Regions from separate parts of the Homo sapiens genome. Here region 2 is linked to region 1. Evidence: promoter capture Hi-C in 16 types of primary human blood cells and fetal thymus (Javierre and others, 2016). All regions are on one chromosome and are shown on one strand. The core of a region is centred on a gene start or on the middle of the fragment in contact, and the rest is flanking DNA. Distances in the headings are between cores, read along the strand shown.

Region 1 (7,345 bases), core at 1,924-4,423:
GTGGTGGTGTGCGCCTGTACTCCCAGCTACTCGGGAGGCTGAGGCACGAGAAATGCTTGAACCCAGGAGGTGGAGGTTGCAGTGAGCCAAAATTGCATCACTGCACTCCAGCCTAGGCAACAGAGCAAGACTATGTCTCAAAAAAAAATAAAAATAAAAATAAACCACAATATTGAAACCAGTTAGGCTAGTAAACATATACACTTTAAAACTGCAGATGTACCTGCCCAATTTAAATCAGCATACTGATTTGTTGAAGCCAGCATGATTCTACAACTGCCCAGTTTGAAACAATCAATGTATTAACATGACTGTTTGCAAACATCCCCCAGCATAAACAGGTGGCTTTCTGGACCCACCAATTTCATTTTTCTCCTAGGAAGAGCCAGGTGTGACAGGATTGACAGCTACTCTCTACTATCCAATTTGTCATCTACTTCACCACCAAAAGCTGGTTAACCAGAAGGGGAGAGAGGAAGGCGGCATAGTTTTGAAAATGAGCCTAATGGGGTAGGGGCTCGAGGGGGATGGGGAAGGAGTTGGGAACCGCAGATGCTTGGTCTAAGGCACAGGAACCCATGTGTCTGGAGATAGGCCACCCTGTGTCCCCAAGCCCTCCCACCCAAGGCTCCAATCCCCCATCTGTCTCTGACCATCTGCTCGGGGCTGAGGGGCCAGGGAAGTGGGCTTGGGCTTTGTAATGTCCCTCCCCACAAAGCCATCCAGCTGCTGGCTCCCCCACCTCCCCAGTGGAAGGAGGAGGGGCCGGAGACACCAGATGGGGAGAGAGACATCCTTACAAATGACAGAGTTGAGAGGGTCAGGGACTCCAGAATCTGTGCTTGTTTACTCACCATTGTCGAACTCATCAGGAATCTGGGAGGTAGAGAGAAAAATGGAAGGTTTAGGATGTCAGAGGCAGAACCCCATCACATACAGAAAAGGAATCTCCAGGACCCCAAGAGGAACAGGCAAAGGTCACTGGGAAAGAAAGGCTCACTCCAGACCAGCAATGTGCCTGAACAGACCAAAGGGGACCCCTCTCACCCACAGACTAGGACTCCTGGCAAGGCCTCGGTCTCTTTCCCCCTCACCTTGGCACCATTTTCGTCCACCGGGTTGTTTCCTGCAAGGGAGACCAGGATGAATATGAGGAATTAGGGCCCAGTCCCCTGGGTCCCGAGGGAGGAGTGGGATAAGGGGCCTGGACTCCTGGATCTGAGGAAAGAGAGAGGCACAGCCTCCTGGAGTCAAGCCAGGAGGGGGCTGGGAGCCAAGATTCCTGGGTCTTTGAGAGAAATGGGGCTGGGGCTAGGTCTTTTGGGTCTGTGGGATTTTTTTTTTTTTTTTTGAGACAGAGTCTCGCTCTGTTGCCCAGGCTGGAGTGCAGTGGCACGATCTCGGCTCACTGCAAGCTCCGCCTCCCGGGTTCACGCCATTCTCCTGCCTCAGCCTCCCGAGTAGCTGAGACTACAGGCGCCCGCCACCACACCGGGCTAATTTTTTTTTGTATTTTTAGTAGAGATGGGGTTTCACCGTGTTAGCCAGGATGGTCTCCGTCTCCTGACCTCGTGATCCGCCCGCCTCGGCCTCCCAAAGTGCTGGGATTACAGGCGTGAGCCACCGTGCCCGGCCGGGTCTGTGGGATTTAAAGTAACTAGTGGGAAGGCTGGATTTTTGGCTGCTGAGGAAAGACAAAGTTTAGGAAGCTGATCCAGGCCTATCCTTCCCCATCTTCCCCTCTTTCCTTTATCCTGGTACAGGAACCAACTAGAAAGACTAGAACCTTAAGGAGTGGAAGGGAGAAGAAAGAAGACTTCCCTGGTTTTCAAGGTAGGTGTCTTATTTGGCTGCCCTATTGAGGAAGGAGCCAGGGAATGAAGACGAGAGAAGCTGGTAGTGGGCAAGAGTGGGAGGTTCCACAGTGGACCAGGGAGGCCAAGGAACAAAACTGGGGGACAGGGATATGTCCCTCACCAAAGATATAGACGACGCTCACAGTCCCACCAGCTCCAAGCAGCCCAGCAAGCCAGAGCGCAACTTTTTTGGCATAGCTGGGACCCTCTGAGCCCGGCTGCTGCTGTGGCCCTTGCGCCTTAGTGCTCCCGCGGCTCCCGATCTCTGCGGCCTGCGGTTGAGAAAGGGGAGGTCAGCCAAGAGAGAAGAGAGGTCAGGATGGTCCCCACCCTCCAGTCCAAGAAGAATCAAGTTCAGGAGCCAAGAGGCAGACACCCACAGAGCCCTGGACATCTGTGTCCCTGGAGTAGCAGTCAGGATGTGGGGCTGCTCAGAGGGTCAAAACCAGACTGTCCCGCACCAGGATGCCAGGAGTTTTAAAAGCTAACAGGCCAGGTGCACAGGATCCTGAAGGCAACAGGACTGGAGGGTCTGCAGCCCAGAAAAGCAAAGCACGGAGAATAAGGGATGGGAGGGCCTAAACACTGGGATGAGAGGGAACGGAGGGCACAAGTGGTGGGGGAAGGGGTACAGACAGAACCGGGAGTTACGACGTCCGGCTGCTTGGGGCTAAAAGTAGCAGAGTTATAGGGTAAGGGATAGGAGCGGAGGCGGGGAAGGGCAATCACTTGTCTGGGGCTTGGGGAACTAAGGCACAGAAGTGATAGACTTGGAGGTCAGAATGGCTGGGTCTCTGTCAACATGGAGGCAAGTCGAATTGGAAACCCAAACGTCTACCTCGCCACCACCAACGCCACAGAGAAAATAACTCCCACGGCCAGACTGGGACTCCAGCGTCCCAGGCCCCTCCTGCTCAAGTATCACCTGAGTGGTCACTGAAACGGGGAACGGTAACCCCCTCCTCCTCCGGCACCCACGTGGGTGGGAGGTGGGGTCTAAGGACACACCTGGATTCCCAGCCTCCAGCCTAGGGGAGCAACCACCCAGGAGGTTGGGAAGGGCCCCAAAACACAAGCGGCGTTTCATTCAGCACCCTGAGGTGAGGCGTCCCGGAACCCCCAAGGGGCGGCGATATGTCCGTAACTCCAGGGAAGGGACCCCACATTCAGAGGGCCACCCTCGTTCCGCTCACCTGATCTGGGGCCCGGCGGGGCGGCGTCGCCAACCTCGTGCACAGTCCCCGCGAGCCGAGCCGGAGCCCGCTTCGCAAGCGCGAGAACACCGCTGCCGAGGCCGCCATCTTGCGCTGACGCCACGCGGCCCCGCCCACTCGCTCCCTCTTCGCCCGCCCCGGGCCGGAGCTACAGCCAATGGAAACGCGGGGGAGGGGCGGGTGGACGGAAGCCCGAGAGAGACCAAAGGCATCGGGCGGATTGCCGCAGGCGCGTTTGCTTCTGACTAGTCTCCTGGCTGACCCTGGGGGCGACAACTGGGATTCAAAGTCATCTGGACCACGCCCCCTTGGGCCTTGCAGAGCGCCACCGCCCCTGCAAAGGACGCAGCGAAGGAAGGGATCACACTTATTGCCCAGAGATAAAGCTGAGGCCATAATGAAGGGAGTCAGTGGCTGCCTGATTTGTCCAAAAAAATAGTCACGAGTCAGGCCGCTTGTCTCACCGTGTAAGGCAATCGGCCCTCACCTCCCAATTGTCTGAAGGGATGGGTTGCCCCTCCACACCTGTGGGTGTTTCTCGTTAGGTGGAACGAGAGACTTTGGAAGAGAAAAAGACACAGAAACAAAGTATAGAGAAAGAAATAAAGGGGGCCCAGGGGACCAGCGTTCAGCATACGGAGGATCCCTCCAGCCTCTGAGTTCCCTTAGTATTTACTGATCATTCTTGGGTGTTTCTTGGAGAGGGGGATGCGTCAGGGTCATAGGATAATAGTGGAGAGAGGGTCAGCAGATAAACACGTGAACAACGGTTCATAGACAAGGTAAAGAATTAAATGCTGTACTTTAGATATGCATACATATAAACATCTCAGTGCCTTACAGAGCAGTATTGTTGCCCGCATGTTCCACCTCCAGCCCTAAGGCAGTTTTCCCCTATCTCAGTAGATGGAACATACAATCGGGTTTTATACCAAGACTTGCCCAGGGACGGGCAGGAGACAGATGCCTTCCTCTTGTCTCAACTGCGAAGAGGCGTTCCTTCCTGTTTTACTAATCCTCCTCAGCACAGACCCTTTACGGGTGTCGGGCTGGGGGACGGTCAGATCTTTCCCTTCCCATGAGGCCATATTTCAGACTATCACATGGGGAGAAACCTTGGACAATACCTGGCTTTCCTAGGCAGAGGTCCCTGCGGTCTTCCGCAGTGTTTGTGTCACTGGGTACTTGAGATTAGGGAGTGGTGATGACTCTTAAGGAGCATGCTGCCTTCAAGCATCTGTTTAACAAAGCACGTCCTGCACAGCCCTTAATCCATTTAACCCTGAGTTGACACAGCACATGTTTCAGAGAGCACGGGGTTGGTTATAGAGAACCCCGTCATCTATAACAGGGTATGGTTATAGATTAACAGCATCTCAAGGCAGAAGAATTTTTCTTAGTACAGAACAAAATGGAGTCTCCTATGTCTACTTCTTTCTACACAGACACAGTAACAATCTGATCTTTCTTTTCCCCACATTGTCAGAAATAGACATTGAGGCCCAGAAAACGACCTGAAAAGCCAGCCCTCGAAAACTCTTCTGGCCAGGCGCTGTGACTGACACCTATAATCCCAGTGCTTCGGGAGGCCGAGGCAGGAGGATCGCTTGAGGCCAGGAGTTTGAGACCACACTGGGTAACATAGCAAGACTGCAATCTCTATTTTTAAAATTAATAATAATAGGCCGGGCGCAGTGGCTCATGCCTGTAATCCCAGCACTTTGGGAGGCTGAGGCAGGCGGATCACCTGAGGTCAGGAGTTTTGAGACCAGCCTGGCCAACATGGGGAAACCACGTCTCTACTAAAAATAACAAAAAAAAAAAAAAATTAGCCAGGCATGATGGCACGCGCCTGTAGTCCCACCTACTGGGGAGGCTGAGCAGAAGAATCGCTTGAACCCAGGAGGCAGAGGTTGCAGTGAGCCTAGATTGTGCCACTGCACTCCAGCCTGGGCGACAGAGGGAGACTCCGTCTCAAAAAAAATAAAATAAAAATTAATAATAAAACTCTTCCTCACGTGGAGCTGGGAGGCAGAATCTGTTTTCTCTCCCATTCCTTCCTGCCATGATTTTCTATAAAGGACTGGAGAGCCAACCATTTTACCTGAGGCTCAGCCAAAGAACAGCAGTATCTGGCTGTACAGGGCTTGAGTGAGAAACGAATTAGAGGCTATAGATAAGACACCACGAACCTCCCTTAAATTGAGTGGAAGAAAAATCAGATCCTGTTTATGTAAACTTTAAAACCAAATACCAAGGTAGTAAAAATACAAATTCAAGAAAGGGAAAGACACAAGGAACTCGGCCCTCCTGGTTACTTCTGGGGGAATGGATTTAGGGTGCTGCTGAAGTGGGTCCTATCTAGTACATATTGTTTCCTGTTTCCTCAGCTGGCTGATGGGGACATTGGTGTTCTTGGTATATAATCTTGAACGTCTGAAATGTTTTTTGGTGTTTTTTTTTGTTGTTGTTGTTGGTTTTTTTTGGTTTTTTGAGACAGAGTTTTGCTCTGTCACCCTGGCTGGAGTGCAGTTGGTGCAATCTCGGCTCACGGCAACCTCCACCTCCCAGGTTCAAGCGATTCTCCTGCTTCAGCCTCCCAAGTAGCTGGGAATACAGGCGCCCGCCACCATGCCCAGCTAATTTTTTTTGTATTTTTAGTAGAGACAGGGTTTCACCATATTGGTCAGGCTCGTCTCAAACTCCAGACTTCAAATGATCCGCCCCCCTCGGCCTCCCAAAGTGCTGGGATTACAGGCATGAGCTATTGCGCCCGGCCTGAAATGTTTTATAATACATTTACATTTGTAAAAAGACAGGAATATCTAACGAGGAAGGGAAACAGGTTCTGGGTACTAAGCCCCAGTCTCTAAGATTGCACTCACTCCTGCCCCCAAGTCATTGGATGAACTACAGCAATCCTGGTGTCACTGCTATCAGGGTTCAAGAAAAAGGACCGCTGAGCACTGTGGCTCACGCCTGTTATTGCAGCACTTTGGGAGGCCGAGGCAGAAGGATCACTTGAAGCCAGGAGATCGAGACCAGCCTGAGCAATATAGTGAGACCCGTCTCTATGAAAAACTTAAAAATAAAAAAATTATCCAGGCGTGGTGGCACACGCCTGTAGTCCCAGCTACTTAGGAGGCTGAGGCAAGAGGATCGCTTGAGCGCAGGAGGTTGAGGCTGCAGTGAGCAATGACTGCACCACTGAACTCCAGCCCGGGCAACAGAGGGAGACCCCACCTCAAACAGAAAAGAAAAAAAAAAGGATCATTGGCCAGGTGCAGTGACTCACGCCTGTAATACCAGCACTTTGGGAGGCCGAGGCGGGCGGATCACGAGGTCAGGAGTTCAAGACCAGCCCGGCCAACATGGTGAAACCCGTCTCTCCTAAAAGTACAAAAAAAAAAAAATAATAATAGCCAGGCGTGGTGGCTCACGCCTGTAATCCCAGCTACTCAGGAGGCTGAGACAGGAGAATTGCTTGAACCCAGGAGGTACAGGTTGCAGTGAGCCGAGATCATACCTCTGAACTTCAGCCTAGATGACAGAGAGAGACTCTGTCTCAGGGGAGGAAAAAAAAAAAAAAGGCCAGGTGCGGTGGCTCACGCCTGTAATCCCAACACTTTGGGAGGCCAAGGTGGGCGGATCACGAGGTCAAGAGATCAAGACCATCCTGGTCAACATGGTGAAACCCTGTCTCTACTAAAATACAAAAAAATTCGCTGGGTGTGGTGGTGCACGCCTGTAATCTCAGCTACTGGGGAGGCTGATGCAGGAGAATCGCTTGAACCCGGGAGGCGGAGGTTGCAGTGAGCCAAGATCGTGCCACTGCACTCCAGCCTGGTGAGAAAGCAAGACTCCATCTCAAAAAAATAAAAATAAAGAGAAAACAAAGAAAAAGGACCATCAAGCACTGTATCCTGCACCACAGGAGGAATTTAGGTTTCCTGGGGGATACTGTGATTTTCACTTAGCATAATTCATGCCTGAATAAGATATAATGTCATCAATCACATGACAAGCTCTACTCTGATCATCTCCTTCCGACGTCTTCTCATACACACTCCCCTCAAGAGCTCTCTGGGGCAGGCACTATCACTATTATCTAGATGGGAAAACAGATTTAGGTAGGGTCCAGTTATTTGCCCCAACCACAAAGCAAGGAAGTGGGGTCTGCAAATGACCCCACTTAAAAACAACACCCTCATTCCCACGGCATACACACACACACACACACACACACACACACACACACACACACACGCACTTTTA
Region 2 (7,345 bases), core at 1,837-4,336, 180 kb before region 1:
AAAAAACTTTCTTCTTAAGTATATTGTATTCATTCAGCTACATGAAAATTTAAATAATGGCATAAGTAGAAATGAGCACTATGTGAAAAGACAGAGGAGATTCTCCACTTTGGGGGAAATGGAAGATGAGCCGACCTTGACCTTGGTCAGATTTGGGAAAGAGCTGAGGACGGCAGTGCAAGCAGAGGGTGCTCTGTGATGAAAACCTGGGGCAGGGGTAGTTACGGGAGATGGGCCCTGAGGGACTGGTGAGGCCAGGTCAATGAGAGCTGACTCCTGCTCTGGGATCCCAAAGAGCCTGGGTACTGCGAGCTCCTGGGGTGCTCACCTCATACTCATTGTGACACACGTAGATGCGCAAGTCAAATGGTTTGCCATCCTCAAAGGGCACATAGTGTAAATTCTCCTCCAACATCCATATCCCAAACTCACGACTGTTCATGACCACACGACGGCCTAAGTGCACTCGCAAATGGAAGGCAATTTCTGAGTCCTCATTCATCTCAGTGTAGAAATCCACCTGCAGCTGTGGTTCGTTGCTGAGGGCAAAGCACACAGCATATTGGACAGGTTCCTTCATTGCACAGACACACACTTGACACGCACACAAATCCCTTCCCCCATTTACCCAGGGTAAAATTCTCTCTGATGATACTGCAGGCCTGGTCCCTGTGGGGATGCTTCAGCTCCTCGTGCCCCCTGCAGGGAGATGCTGTGCCCCTCATCCCCAGATGAAAACTGAATCACAGTCACTGACCTGGGCCTGTGACTTGTTCATTCCCTGAAAATTCTATGCCCCTTGATAAAGAGCCACAGTCCCAACCCACTGAGTATTCTCCTCCCCTAGGCCCCATGGCTGGCCCACATGCAGTTGCTGCAGGTCTCATGCCTGGTGCTGGAGGGTCTCCAGGACCTGCACCTGCATGGGGCCTCCATCCTGCCAATTAGACATTTCCACATCACCCACACATAAGGTCAAACTCTTAGCAAATATTCTCCTTTCTCCTCCACCCCCTCCATTGGACCATGGAGTACTCACATAGAAGAGTCGATCAGTGTCCCTTTGATTATCACGCAGGAACCAACAGACAAAGACACAGGCAGTTTGTATGGCACCTGCCAGGGTATTGAGAATAAGTGAGAGGTGCAGGGTCAGGTGCAGTCTCCCTTCCTGTAACATATTCCCATGGTGCAGGAGGTTAGAGATCACAGGGCAGGCTCTGTGGACTCTCCCCATTCACTCTACCACAGTCAGGGCCCCACATTCCTGAAGGTATGGTGGACCCATAGGTAAGAGCAAGGGTTCAGGAGCCAAGAAGCCTGGATTCCAGTCCTCATTCTGCCTCTTACTAGCAGTGCAATCTTAGATCGGTTACTTGACTTCCTCAGTTTCCCTAAAACAAGGAGGATTATCATGAATTCCTACTGTGTAGGAAGTTCTCCATAATAGAGCAGTTAATACATGTAAAACTTTTACCCTAATCCCTGGCATGTGTAGGGCCTGTTAGGGGTGACCTAACAGAACAGGGGAGTCCTCCTGAAACACTGATCTGCCTTATTTTCAACTCTCACAATCATCAAGGGCAATGGACGTCCTTCCAAGAAGTGGCACACATTACTGACAGCACAGCCCCAGTACTTGCACAAGTGAAGCCTGTGGGTCAGGGACATAACTGGAGGGAATGATTGATTTCTACAATGACTACAAGTGGTTGATGATTTTTCTGTATTTTTGAGATAGGGTCTTGCTCTGTTGCCCAGGCTGACATGCAGTGGTGCGATCATAGCTCATTGAAACGTTGAACTCCTGGGCTGCAGTGATCCTCACACATCTGCCCCCTCTTGTGTAGCTGGGGCAAAAGGTGCCTGCCACTCTGGCAGTCTGATATTTAAAGTTTTTTAAAGAAAGGGTCTCACTATGATACCCAGACTGGCCTCAAACTTCTGGCCTCAAGTTATCCTCTCATCTTTGTCTCTCAGATTGGTGGGATTATAGCCGTGAGCCAGTGAACCCAGCTGCTTTGTTGATTAATATCCACTGTAAGCTCTGTCTGAACTGAGACTAGACTTGTTCCTTCATGGGTGGAGGAACAAGTTTAGACTCAGTTGAGACATAGCTTACAGTGGATATTTTACGTGATTCAGTCTCTGAAACCATGGCCTCTAATATCCTTCTCTAGCAAACCTCCTGTCCCACAATGAAAAGGACAGGATAGGCTGGGGACAGGGAAGCTGAGCCTGGGAGGCAAGAGACAGTGGTCACTCTGTGCAGACCCCACCTGAGGATCCATCACCCCCATAGTCTCCATTCCTCTTCCCCACTCTTACTGGGAAGAGACATCTACTGATCATACATTCTGCTCTCATAAGTGATCTGAAACAAGTCCTTGGTAACTCACAATCTCCAAGATCCCTACCAGTTAAGCCACCTGGGATCCACATTGCCACACATGAAAAGACACACAGTTCCTTCATCAGAAGTGCTGTTGTGTGGGGAGGAACCTTCACATGCACAGAAGGCCACATGCGTGTTTTCCCTTCAATACTCAGTCACATCCCAGCACACACACCCACAGTCACACAGAGCCATGCCACTCACTGAGTTACACACACCTGCTCACTGCGCACATAAAGATGACCATGCACTGGTCTGGCTGTGCTAACACACACTCACATCACAAAGAGGAAGACAAAGTACAATCACCCCCCTTACACTCACACAAACACCTGCTTGACCTGGTGTGCCATCCACCTCCCACCTAAAGTCACATCATCTCATCAGAGTTCACTCTCATCAGATACCACCTCATGCTCACAGAGGGTTACATTTGTCCAGGATCCACAACCCACATGCTACAAGCATCTCAGATACCCAGCCTCAGTGTTTCTCTTCCACACACCCACAACTCTCAGTAAAGCATTCACAGTAGGAATGCTCATATTTTCATCTCATAAAATACCCCACATCTTTCTTGGTTTTGTGTGACTTGAGATTATTGAAGGCTGTGCCTTTTCAACTCACAGTTAGAAATGACATTGTCCTCTCCTTCTGGGCGACCTTCGGAATTGTGTCCAGTCTTCTGAGTGAATCTCTGAGTTGCAGCACTTAAATGACCCCTTTCAGCTTTGCCCTCTGGCATCATTCCAGATTCCATGCTCCTCCCAGCAAGCTTTCCTTGCAGCATGAGAAAGGGTCAGGTGTCACGAAGAAACTCAGTCACAACCATAACTATTTGCAAGTCTGTGTCTGTAATGCAGCAGAAATGACATTGGGGAAGGTACCAGACTGTGGATTGGGTTACCAGGGAAATGCATAGATAAGGATGATGGAGTGAGGGGTAGTGATTGTAAAGCCCAGCCTTTGTGCCTCTCAAGCCTTTTCTCCACTATGCAGAATCTACCCAGAAGGTGTACATTTTCCCAATTTTGTACAATGGCTAAACAAGAAAAAAAAAGTTGGAGATTTTGGGGGAAACAAGTTAGCCCTAAAAGGTAATTCTTCTCTCTGCCTTTAAATGTTCTGGGAGAGCACTGACCTTGATCCTGAGGAGGATCTGCAGAGAGAAGTAGAGAAATTTCTTGCATGAACCTGCCCCACACTAAGCCACTTGGCTTTGCTAGGTAAGGGCCACTTTCATCTGACTGTCACACACTTGGGCTCTAGCTACACCCTCTGTTGGTGTCCATGTAAATCAAAGTTTGAGGGAGACTGTTTCTTCTGCAGATTCTGGGAGAAAGGTGAGATTTAAAAAAAATTATTATTATACTTTAAGTTCCAGGGTACATGTGCACAATGTGCAGGTTTGTTACACAGGTATACATGTGCCATGTTTGTTTGCTGCACCCATTAACTCGTCATTTACATTATTTATCCTGATGCTATCCATCCCCCTGCCCCCCACCCCATGATAGTCCCCCATGTGTGATGTTCCCTGCCATGTGTCCAAGTGCTCTCATTGTACAATTCCCACCTATGAGTGAGAACATGCGGTATTTGGTTTTCTGTGCTAGTGATAGTTTGTTCAGAATGATGGTTTCCAGCTTCATCCATCTCCCTGCAAAGGACATGAACTCATCCTTTTTTATGGCTGCATAGAATTCCATGGTGTATATGTGCCACATTTTCTTAATTCAGTCTATCATTGAAGGATTTGGTTTGGTTCCAAGTCTTTGCTATTGTGAACAGTGCTGCAATAAACATACGTGTGCATGTGTCTTTATAGTAGCATGATTTATAATCCTTTGGGTATATACCCAGTAATGGGATGCTGGGTCAAATGATATTTCTAGTTCTAGATCCTGGAGGAATGGCCACACTGTCTTCCATAATGGTTGAGCTCGTTTACACTCCCACCAACAGTGTAAAAGCGTTCCTATTTCTCCATATCCTCCCCAGCATCTGTTGTTTCCTGACTTTTTAATGATCGCCATTCTAACTGGTGTGAGATGGTATCTCAATGTAGTTTTGATTTGCATTTCTCTAATGACCAGTGATGATAAGCATTTTTTCCTGTGTTTGTTGGCTGCATAAATGTCTTCTTTTGAGAAGTGTCTGTTCATATCCTTTGCCCACTTTTTGATGGGGTTGTTTGTTTTTTTCTTGTAAATTTGTTTAAGTTCTTTGTAGATTCTGGATATTAGCCCTTTGTCAAATGGGTAGATTGCAAAAATTTTCTCCCATACTGTAGGTTGCCTATTCACTCTGACGGTAGTTTCTTTTGCTGTGCAGAAGCTCTTTAGTTTAATTAGATCCATTTGTCAATTTTGGCTTTTGTTGCCATTGCTTTTGGTGTTTTAGTCATGAAGTCCTTGCCTATGCCTACATCCTAAATGATATTGCCTAGGTTTTCTTCTAGGGTTTTCATGGTTTTAGGTCTAACATTTAAGTCTTTAATCCATCTTGAATTAATTTTTGTATAAGGTGTAAGGAAGGGGTCCAATTTCAGCTTTCTACATATGGCTAGCCAGTTTTCCCAGCACCATTTATTAAATAGGGAATCCTTTCCTCATTTCTTGTTTTTGTCAGGTTTATCAAAGATCAGATGGTTATAGATGTGTGGTGTTATTTCTGAGGGCTCCATTCTGTTCCATTGGTCTATATATCTGTTTTGGTACCAGTATCATGCTGTTTTGGTTACTGTAGCCTTGTGGTGTACTTTGAAGTCAGGTAGCATCCAATTCTGTGAAGAAGGTCATTGGTAGCTTGTTGGGAATGGCGTTGAATCTATAAATTACCTTGGGAAGTATGGCCATTTTCACGATATTGATTCTTCCTATCCGTGATCATGGAATGTTCTTCCATTTGTTTGTATCCTCTTTTATTTCATTGAGCAATGGTTTGTAGTTCTCCTTGAAAGGGTCCCTCACATCCCTTGTAAGTTTGATTCCTAGGTTTTTTATTCTCTTTGAAGCAATTGTGAATGGGAGTTCGCTCATGATTTGGCTCTCTGTTTGTCTGTTATTGGTGTATGGGAATGCTTGTGACTTTTGCACATTGATTTTGTATCCTGAGACTTTGCTGAAGTCACATCAGCTTACGGAGATTTTGGGCTGAGATGATGGGGTTTTCTAAGTATACAATCATGTCATCTGCAAACAGGGACAATTTGACTTCCTCTTTTCCTAATTGAATACCCTTTATTGCTTTCTCTTGCCTGATTGCCCTGGCCAGAACTTCCAACACCATGTTGAATAGGAGTGGTGAGAGAGGGCATCCCTGTCTTGTGTCAGTTTTCAAAGGGAATACTTTCAGCTTTTGCCAATTCAGTATGATATTGGCTGTCGGTTTGTCATAAATAGCTCTCATTATTTTGAGATACATTCCATCAATACCTAGTTTATTGAGAGTTTTCAGCATGAAGGGCTGTTGAATTTTGTCAAAGGCCTTTTCTGCATCTATTGAGATAATCATGTAGTTTTTGTCACTGGTTCTGTTTATGTGATGGATTTTGTTTATTGATTTGAGTATGTTGAACAAGACTTGCACCCCATGTATGAAGCTGACTTCATCGTGGTGGATAAGATTTTTGATGTGCTGCCAGATTTGGTTTGCCAATATTTTATTGAGGATTTTTGCATCAATGTTCATCAGGGATATTGCTCTAAAATTCTCTTTTTTTGTTGTGTCTCTGCCAGGCTTTGGTATTTGGATGATGCTGGCCTCATAAAACGAGTTAGGGAGGATTCCCTCTTTTTCTATTGATTGGAATAGTTTCAGAAGGAATGGTACCAGCTCCTCTTTTTACCTCTGGTAGAATTCAGCTGTGAATCCATCTGGTCCTGGACTTGTTTTTGTTGCTAGGCTATTAATCATTGCCTCAATTTCAGAGCCTGTTACTTGTCTATTCAGAGATTCAACTTCCTGGTTTAGTCTTGGGAGGGTGTATGTATCCAGGAATTTATCCATTTCTTCTAGATTTTCTAGGTTATTTGCGTAGAGGTGTTTATAGTATTCTCTGATGGTAGTTTGTATTTCTGTGGGATCGGTGGTGATATCCTCTTTATCATTTTTTATTGCATCTATTTGATTCTTCTCTCTTCTTTTTTAGTCTGGCTAGCGGTCTATCAATTTTGTTGATCTTTTTCAAAAAACAAGCTCCTGGATTCATTGATTTTTTGTTGGTTCTTTATGTGTCTCTATCTCCTTCAGTTCTGCCCTGATCTTAGTTATTTCTTATCTTCTGCTAGCTTTTGAATTTGTTTGCTCTTCCTTCTCTAGTTCTTTTAATTGTGATGTTAGGATGTCAATTTTAGATCTTTCCACAAAGAAATTTCGTGGGCATTTAGTGGTATAAATTTCCCTCTACACACTGCTTTAAATGTGTCCCAGAGATTCTGGTATGTTGTGTCTTTGTTCTCATTGGTTTCAAAGAACATCTTTATTTCTGCCTTCATTTCGTTATGTACCCAGTAGTCATTCAGGAGCAGGTTGTTCAGTTTCCATGTAGTTGTGCGGTTTTGAGTGAGTTTCTTAATCCTGAGTTCTAATTTGATTGCACTGTGGTCTGAGAGACAGTTTGTTGTGATTTCTGTTCTTTTACATTTGCTGAGTAGTGCTTTACTTCCAACTATGTGGTCAATTTTGGAATAAGAGCGATGTGATGCTGAGAAATGTATATTCTGTTGATTTGGGGTGGAGAGTTCTGTAGATGTCTATTAAGTCTGCTTGGTCCAGAGCTGAGTTCAAGTCCTGGATATCCTTGTTAACCTTCTGTCTCAGTGACCTGTCTAATATTGACAGTGGGGTGTTAAAGTCTCCCATTATTTTGGTGTGGGAGTCTAAGTCTCTTTGTAGGTCTCTAAGGACTTGCTTTATGAATCTGGGTGCTCCTGTATTGCGTGCATA

The links. Contacts are between HindIII fragments. The CHiCAGO score rates a contact against its expected background, and 5 or more counts as called.
Region 2: the fragment with the promoter of LGALS16 here is called in contact with the fragment with the promoter of TIMM50 in region 1 in 2 of 17 cell types (non-activated CD4 T cells and naive CD4 T cells); the score reaches 9.3 in non-activated CD4 T cells.

What each region holds. Positions count from the first base shown.
Region 1 is chr19:39,476,666-39,484,010 of GRCh38, reverse strand. It overlaps TIMM50 (translocase of inner mitochondrial membrane 50), which reads right to left and starts at 3,173. Exons shown (of 11, transcript NM_001001563.5): 1 at 3,050-3,173; 2 at 1,978-2,128; 3 at 1,095-1,126; 4 at 855-876. The coding sequence starts at 3,157. It overlaps SUPT5H (SPT5 homolog, DSIF elongation factor subunit), which reads right to left. Exons shown (of 30, transcript NM_001111020.3): 30 at 7,341-7,345. LOC124904718 (a long non-coding RNA gene) reads right to left here and starts at 847. Exons shown (of 2, transcript XR_007067257.1): 1 at 1-847. RefSeq lists enhancers at 2,721-2,770, 2,891-3,485. The HindIII fragment of the contact is 24,447 bases long and covers 1-7,345 here.
Region 2 is chr19:39,651,654-39,658,998 of GRCh38, reverse strand. It overlaps LGALS16 (galectin 16), which reads right to left and starts at 3,086. Exons shown (of 4, transcript NM_001190441.3): 1 at 3,023-3,086; 2 at 1,040-1,116; 3 at 329-539. The coding sequence starts at 3,037. The HindIII fragment of the contact is 3,782 bases long and covers 1-3,172 here.